Regions from separate parts of the Homo sapiens genome. Here region 2 is linked to region 1. The links are contacts of gene promoters, found by promoter capture Hi-C in human tissues and cell types (Jung and others, 2019). All regions are on one chromosome and are shown on one strand. The core of a region is centred on a gene start or on the middle of the fragment in contact, and the rest is flanking DNA. Distances in the headings are between cores, read along the strand shown. Region 1 holds the start of C20orf141 (chromosome 20 open reading frame 141). Region 2 overlaps PTPRA (protein tyrosine phosphatase receptor type A).

Region 1 (3,944 bases), core at 1,149-3,648:
CATTCTTGCTTCAGATCCGATGTATGTGATGTTTTTATTTGGTGGAAGCTCTTAGGATTGTCTTTTTATCCCTGCTAATGTGAATTTCATTATATGCCTTGATGTTAGCTGCCCTGTTTCATGTATTGGGCTGTGAATTGGTGGAAAGTTATGGTCTAGAGAATCATGTCCTTCAATTCTGAAGAGTCTCTTGATTTTTAAAAATCTTTCCCTTCTGGTCGGGCAGGGTGGCTCACACCTGTAATCCCAGCACTTTGGGAGGCTGAGGCGGTCACATCACCTGAGGTCAGGAGTTTGAGACCAGCCTGGCCGACATGGTGAAACCCTGTCTCTACTAAAAATACAAAAATTAGCTGGGTGTGGTGGTGGGTGCCTGTAATCTCAGTTACTTGGGAGGCTGAAGCAGGAGAATCACTTAAACCCGGGAGGCGGAGGTTGCAGTGAGCCAAGATGGCGCCATTGCACTCCAGCCTGGGCAACAAGAGCGAAACTCTGTCTCAAAAAAAAAAAAAAAAAAAAATAGAAAGAAAGGTTTTCCTCCTCAGAGCACTCCCTCAATAAACCATGTGTACAAGTATCCCCATCTCAGGCTCTACTTTTAGAAATTATGACCCATTGATATAGTCTGAATATTTGTCCAAATCTCAAGTTGAAATCTCAAATCCCAATGTTGGAGGTAGGGCCTGATGGGAGGTGTTTGGGTCATGGGGGTGGATATTTCATGGCTTGGTGCTGTCCTTGAAATAGTGAGTGAGTTCTCTCAAGATCTGGTTGTTTAAGTGTGTGGCAACTCCCCTAACCACCACTCTCTCCCTTGCTCTTCACCCTTTGCCTTCTGCCATGATTGGAAGTTTCCTGAGGTCTCCCCAAAAGCAGATGCTGGTACCCTACTTCCTGTACAGCCTGCAAAACTGCAAGCCAATTAAGCCTCTTTTCTTATAAATTACCCAGTCTCAGGTATTTCTTCATAGCAACGCAAGAATGGCCTAATACACCCACCATCTGGTGCAGTGCCTGGCACATAGGAAGCACTTAAATAAATGATTGTTGAATACAAAATAAACTCTGAGAAAATCACAGACAGAACTCTCCTATACATGCATACAGAGCACCTGGTGCATAGTAAATCTTTAAGGAGCTTTAGACTCTCCGATCCCCCCATGCCCTGCAATATGGAGTAGCCTCATCTTGGTGGACTCATCAGGACATGCTCCCCAGGTCTGTATGTCCAGGAATGCAATTGTGTGGATGCATCCAGGATTGATCAGGCTCAGGGAATTGCCAATCTTAAACCTTAATGTTCCTTTACAAGCACAATTGGAACTTAATGCCAAAAAAAAAAAAATTCTGGGATCTTCTGTTATACCCTATCCCATTACGGACAAATCTACTCGTAAAACCCAGCTGCTGGATAAGCAAGAACAGCCAGACCAAGGGCGATCAGTGCATGGTCATTAGGGCTGGTGACCCTCGTCTCTGGGCAAGGCCTGCTGGAGGTGGATATGCAGCCTGATTCTTGTTCTGTCTCCTCCTCTCCTAGGGGCTGTATGGCCACTGTCTCCCATTTTGCCACCCCTACCAGTTTTCCTTCAAAGTATGATATGTGGGCAAAGATTAAGTTCTCTTAATTATGACACATTTCCGCTCTTGCCTCTCAAGTCACTAAACTGAGATGTGCTGGACCCCTATGGCCACCACCCATTTACAGATGATCAGTGTAATCTGATATACTGATAATCCAAGTGACTAAGCCCTTCATTATATGTTCATTTTCCTTAACTCCATTCTCAGACTGTAACCTTAACCTCTAATAAGGGGGTTACTAGGTCATAGTCCTCTTAAGTTCATGTCCTCTACCTCATTACTGGAACCCCAGTATGCATAACACCCCCTATAAACTGTAGTGCTTAGAATACCTGAACAGCCCCCTCCTCTCTCACCCCCATTTAGCAGGTTATGCGGAAGCCCAGCCCCAGAAGCCTCAGGCAGTCCCCTGGCAGAGCCCATCTCTGCAATCTGGAACTTCAGGCCTGAAAAATCCCCTAGAAGGACCCACAGGGAAGACAGCTGGGGACAGAGATATTGAATGACTTCGCCCTGGACCTGCAGCTCTGCAAACTCACAGGAAGAAGAAAGCAGACCTCGCTCCCTTGGACAGATGCCCAAGTAGTAATGGGGTTAGAATGCCTTCCTGACAACTCAGATCCCCAAGGGAGGGCCCTAGGGCAGAGAATCAGCAAAGGCAAGAGGATGAGTCTTAGTTCTCAGAAATCCCTGACTTCCCAGCTAAGCCCCACCTAGGCCACCAGCTGCTTATGAGGTCAGAGCAGCAGCAGCAGCAGCCCCCTCCCTACCCCACGGCCCCACGTGGTAACAGGTCACAATGCCCCGGGTGCCCACTCCCAGAATGCTGACCAAAGTGGGAGGAGGTGAGGAGGGTTTGCTGGGTGGGTATGGGGGAGGGGGAGACTCTGCAGGAGCCTAATTCCCCACTCTGAGCTCACCCTTCTGTCTGCCCGGGCCCTACCCCTTCCCCTACTCTCACCCTTATAATCCTTTTCAGCACTAGGTCTTCCCGTCACCTCCACCTCTCTCCATGACCCGGCTCTGCTTACCCAGACCCGAAGCACGTGAGGATCCGATCCCAGTTCCTCCAAGGGGCCTGGGTGCTGGGGAGGGGTCAGGTAGTCCAGTGCGTCCACCTGTATCCACCTGGGGCCCTAGCTGGGCCCAGCTCCTGGACAGTGTCCTATGGCTGGGGGCACTAGGACTGACAATCCAGGCAGTCTTTTCCACCACTGGCCCAGCCCTGCTGCTGCTTCTGGTCAGCTTCCTCACCTTTGACCTGCTCCATAGGTAAGTGGGCAGCAGCCTGGCAGGTGGGCATTGTAGGCGGGCGGGCCAGTGGACAACTTCCCTAAGCCCAGTCACCACCCTCTCTCTCCACAGGCCCGCAGGTCACACTCTGCCACAGCGCAAACTTCTCACCAGGGGCCAGAGTCAGGGGGCCGGTGAAGGTCCTGGACAGCAGGAGGCTCTACTCCTGCAAATGGGTACAGTCTCAGGACAACTTAGCCTCCAGGACGCACTGCTGCTGCTGCTCATGGGGCTGGGCCCGCTCCTGAGAGCCTGTGGCATGCCCTTGACCCTGCTTGGCCTGGCTTTCTGCCTCCATCCTTGGGCCTGAGAGCCCCTCCCCACAACTCAGTGTCCTTCAAATATACAATGACCACCCTTCTTCATCAGGCCCCCTTTTCTCCTTCCTGGCTGGGCAGGTGGGATGATACCCCTTTCTTCCCAGCCTGAACCTCACAGTCCTATAATATAGGTATCAGATACCTGGATCTGAGTCTTTGGGCAGCAAGAGAAGGTAGGATACTAGCCAGGGAGCCCAAGGAAGAATGTGGCAGCCACCTCAGAGCCTGTGGATTGGGGGCAGCCACTCTGGCCTCCTCTGTGGCTCTAGAGAATGAAGGTCCAGACAGAAAGACTTGCGAGAGAGCAGTTTGGAAAGGGGTGGATATCAGCCAGCAGGGAAAGCAGGAAAGGGACAGGGATCCAGGGAGGGCTTCCCATGAGAAAGCATGAGAAACTACATCTGCGGGGCTCCGAGGCTCCCCTGCCAGCCTGGAGGGTCCGTGCAGAGGGACTTGGGTGGGCCTCACACCCTACAGTGACTCCTCTCTTGGCTGGACCCCACCCCAGCCCGGGTCACAAAGGGGCTCCTCTGGGGAGGGTGGGGGTAGATGAGAGTGGGGACTTGGATCTGCCTGCCAGGCCGTCCTGGGCGCTGCAGGAAGCAACATGACTTAGGTAACTGCCCAGAGGTAAGTCCCAGTCCCTAATTCTGTAGCCCCACCCCACGCACACTGGTGCCCTCCTGACCCCTGCACCCCCTCTCTGCCCCCCCCCCCCAAGGTCCCAGGCATCTTCAAGACCCTGGC
Region 2 (3,809 bases), core at 488-2,987, 110 kb after region 1:
TAATTTATGTGCCAGCTGGATTCTACAGGAAGCAGACACAGATGGGGTTGGAGGGGCAAAGGGCTTATTAGAGGAGTAATGCCTGTGAAGAAAAGGGGAACGGAACATGTTTGGGTATAGGGAGCCATCAGACTGCAGTGCACACCTGACGAAGTCTCTGCCCACCCAGATTGCCTGATAGAGGAATACCACAAGAGGTAGAAATGGCTAGGCTCTTGTACTACCACTTTGCACAGTCATTGACTAGAGATAGATCTTTGATCAATGTAGAGATTTTCAGCCTTGGCATTGTTGACATTTGGGACTGGATACTTTGTTATAGGGGGTTGTCCTGTGATTTGTAAGATGCTTAGCAGCATCCTAGGCCTCTATCCCCTAGATGCCAGTAGCCCAGCCTCCCTGCTATTAGTTGTGACAGTCAAAACTATCTTTAGACACTGCCATATGTTCCCTAGGGAAGGGCCTAATGGTATATAAACAACCCTATGGTGGCATAGTCCAAGTTTTGGGACAGGGAGGAGTGTTCTATACTACCCTTACTGGAAAGACCTATGAGCTATTCAGAAATCTGAACTATTTAAGATGGAGCTTTGTTCTGTGGCTCCTGGAATTTTAAGCACACCCCTGTGAAACATCTTGTTAGGATATACTCCACTCTCCAAAACAATCCATAATGTTTAAATAGGGCTGTTTTATTGATTGATTGATTGATTGATTGAGATGGAGTCTCACTCTGTTGCCCAGGCTGGAGTACACTGTCACGATCTCGGCTCACTGCAACCTCCCCCTCCTGGGTTCAAGCAATTCTCCTGCCTCAGCCTCCCAAGTAACTGGGATTACAGACACCCACCACCGTGCCTGGCTAATTTTTGTATTTTTGGTAGAGACGGGGTTTCACCATGTTGGCCAGGCTGGTCTCGAACTCCTGACTTCTCAGGTGATCCGCCTGCCTCGGCCTCCCAAAGTGCTGGGATTATAGGCATGAGCCACCGCACCTGGCCTTATTTTTCTTTTTGAGATGGAGTCTGACTTTGTCGCCTGAGCTGGAGTGCAGTGGCGCGATCTGGGCTCACTGCAGCCTCTGCCTCCCGGGTTCAAGCAATTCTACCTCAGCCTCCTGAACAGCTGAGATTAGAGATGCGTGCCACCATGCCCAGCTAATTTTTGTATTTTTAGTAGATGCAGGATTTCAGCATGTTGGCTAGGCTGGTCTCAAACTCCTGACCTCAAGTGATCCACCCACCTCGGCCTCCCAAAGTGCTGGGATTACAGGCATGAGCCACCGCTCCTGGCTATTTTCTTTTGAGACTGGGTCTCATTCTGTTCCCAGGCTGGAGTGCAGTGGCACAATCTCAGCTCACTGGAAACTCCACCTTCTGGGCTCAAGCAGTCCTCCCACCTCAGCCTGCTAAGTAGCTGGGATTATAGGCATGTGCCACCCTGCCTGGCTACTTTTTGTGGAGATGGGATTTTGCATGTTGCCTAGGCTGGGCTTGAATTCCTAAGCTAGAACAATCTGCTCAGGGATGTTGTATATTTCTAAAGGTATTTTTCCTTTTGTTGCAGGTGACACAACTAAAAAAAAACAAAGGTATTTATGGAATTCCACTGAGTGGTAATGGATGATGCAGTTCAAATAACTAAGGTAAGAGAAATAAAACCAGAACTGTGAGGAGGCTTTTGCCAGCCAAGTAGTGTCCTTAAATAAAGCTAACATCACATGCTTTCCTGCTTCATTTCGTTTCTAAGCTGTAAGAGTAGCTTATTTTTTTATTATTATAAACATTGTAATTATCCTTTAAGATACTTCTTAACCTGATTATGAATCAGAATCACTTGAAGAGCTTTTTTTTTTTAAAAAAAAAGACCAAAGTCAGGCTGGGCATGGTGGATCACGCCTGTAATCCCAGCACTTTGGGAGGCCGAGGCGGGCAGATCACTTGAGGTCAGGAGTTCAAGACCAGCCTGGCCAACATGGTGAAACCCCATCTCTACCAAAAATACAAAAATTAGCCAGATGTGGTGGCATGTGCCTGTAATCCCAGCTACTCGGGAGGCTGAAGCAGGAGGATCCCTTGAACCCAGGAGACAGAGGTTGCAGTGAGCTGAGATCGCACACTGCATTCCATTCTGGGCACCAAAGAATGAAACTCCTTCTCAAAAAAATAAAAATAAAAAGACCAAAGTTAATGCCCTGCCAGCATTGAATTAAAGCTTCTTGAGTAGATCACAGATGATCTCCAAGTTTTTTAAGTGGGAATGTAAACCAACTCTATAGTTTTAGAAAACTCTTTGGCAATATCTGCAAAACATACACGTATCTAATAACCCAGGAATTTCAATTCTAGGTATCCACCTTTGAGAAATGAAAAATATATGTCTACACAAAAGTGCACATACAAATGTTCACTGCAGCTTTATGTATTATAGCCAGAAAAACTGTAACCCAATCAGGTGTCCAAAAACAGGAGAATAGTTAAACAAATTGTGATATATGGTCAGGTGTGGTGGCTTACACCTGTAATCTAAGCACTTGGGAGGCTAAGGCGGGCAGATCAGTTGACCAGCCTGGTCAACATGGTGAAACCCCATCTCTACTAAAATTACAAAAATGAGCTGAGTGTGGTGGCTCACGCCTGTAATCCCAGCTACTCAGGAGGCTAAGACAGGAGAATGGCTTGAAGCCAGGAGGCAGAAGTTGCAGTGAGGTGAGATCACGCCCCTGCACTCCATCCAATCTGGGCAACAGGGCGAGACTATGTATCAACAACAACAAAAAATTGACATACACTATTGATAACATGGAATTTTATTCAGTAATAGAAAGGAACAAACTACCAGTAGACATGACAACATGGATGAATCTCGTAGATAAAAGGTTGAGTGAAAGAAACCAGATGGACAAGAAAAAGTAGATGTAGCAGAATTACCGAGTAAAACTAAACTACAGTGATAAAGGTCATATCCCTACTTCCTCTGACAGGAGGTGGGAGGTTGTGACTGGAAAGAGGTATGAGAGAGCCTCTGCAGCACCGAAAAGGTGTTTTGTTTTGTTTTTTGAGACTGAGTCTTGCTATGTCACCAGGCTGGAGTGCAGTGGTGTGATCTCAGCTCACTGCAACCTCCGCTTCCTGGGTTCAAGCAATTCTCCTGCCTCAGCTTCCCAAGTAGCTGGGATTACAGACACGCGCCACCACGCCCAGCTAATTTTTGTATTTTTAATAGAGACAGAGTTTCACCATGTTGGCCAGGATGGTCTCGATTGCCCAACCTCATGATCCGCCTGCCTCTGCCTCCCAAAGTGCTGGGATTACAGGCATGAGCCACCGCGCCCGGCCTGAAAAGGTTTTACATCTTAATGTGTTCATATACATACTTTTCTCATGGTAAAATATATATAAGATTAAATTTATCATTTTAACTACTTTTAAAGTATACAATTCATTGGCATTAAGTACATTCCTGTTGTGCAGCCATCACCACTGTCCATCTCCAAAACTTTTTCATCTCCCCAAACTGAAACTCCATATCCATTAAACACTAACTCCCCATTTCCTCCTCCCCCAGCTGCTGGCAACCATTCTACCTTCTGTCTCTATGAATTTGACTATAATAGTTACCTCGTATAAGTGGAATCATATTTGTCATTTGACATCTGGTTTGTTTCACATAGGTTTATTTCACAAAGGTATCTTGTTTATTTCACATAGGATGACCTTGTTTTCAAGTCATCCATGTTGTAGCATATATCAGAATTTACATTTTATGGTTGAATAATATTCTGTTGTATGTTTATACCACTTTATGTG

The links. Contacts are between HindIII fragments. The study calls those that stand out against the background at their distance.
Region 2: a fragment that was not itself captured here is called in contact with the fragment with the promoter of C20orf141 in region 1 in 2 of the 25 tissues and cell types used here (IMR-90 fibroblasts and lymphoblastoid cells).

What each region holds. Positions count from the first base shown.
Region 1 is chr20:2,812,589-2,816,532 of GRCh38, forward strand. It overlaps C20orf141 (chromosome 20 open reading frame 141), which reads left to right and starts at 2,399. Exons shown (of 3, transcript NM_001256538.2): 1 at 2,399-2,429; 2 at 2,564-2,856; 3 at 2,950-3,242. The coding sequence starts at 2,597. The coding sequence ends at 3,187. TMEM239 (transmembrane protein 239) reads left to right here and starts at 3,776. Exons shown (of 2, transcript NM_001167670.3): 1 at 3,776-3,827. The HindIII fragment of the contact is 18,533 bases long and covers 1-3,944 here.
Region 2 is chr20:2,921,641-2,925,449 of GRCh38, forward strand. PTPRA (protein tyrosine phosphatase receptor type A) reads left to right here. Exons shown (of 24, transcript NM_001385305.1): 2 at 1,567-1,645. Among named protein-coding and RNA genes, the nearest start is that of PTPRA, 50 kb to the left of the region's middle. RefSeq lists an enhancer at 1,089-1,589. The HindIII fragment of the contact is 5,316 bases long and covers 1-3,809 here.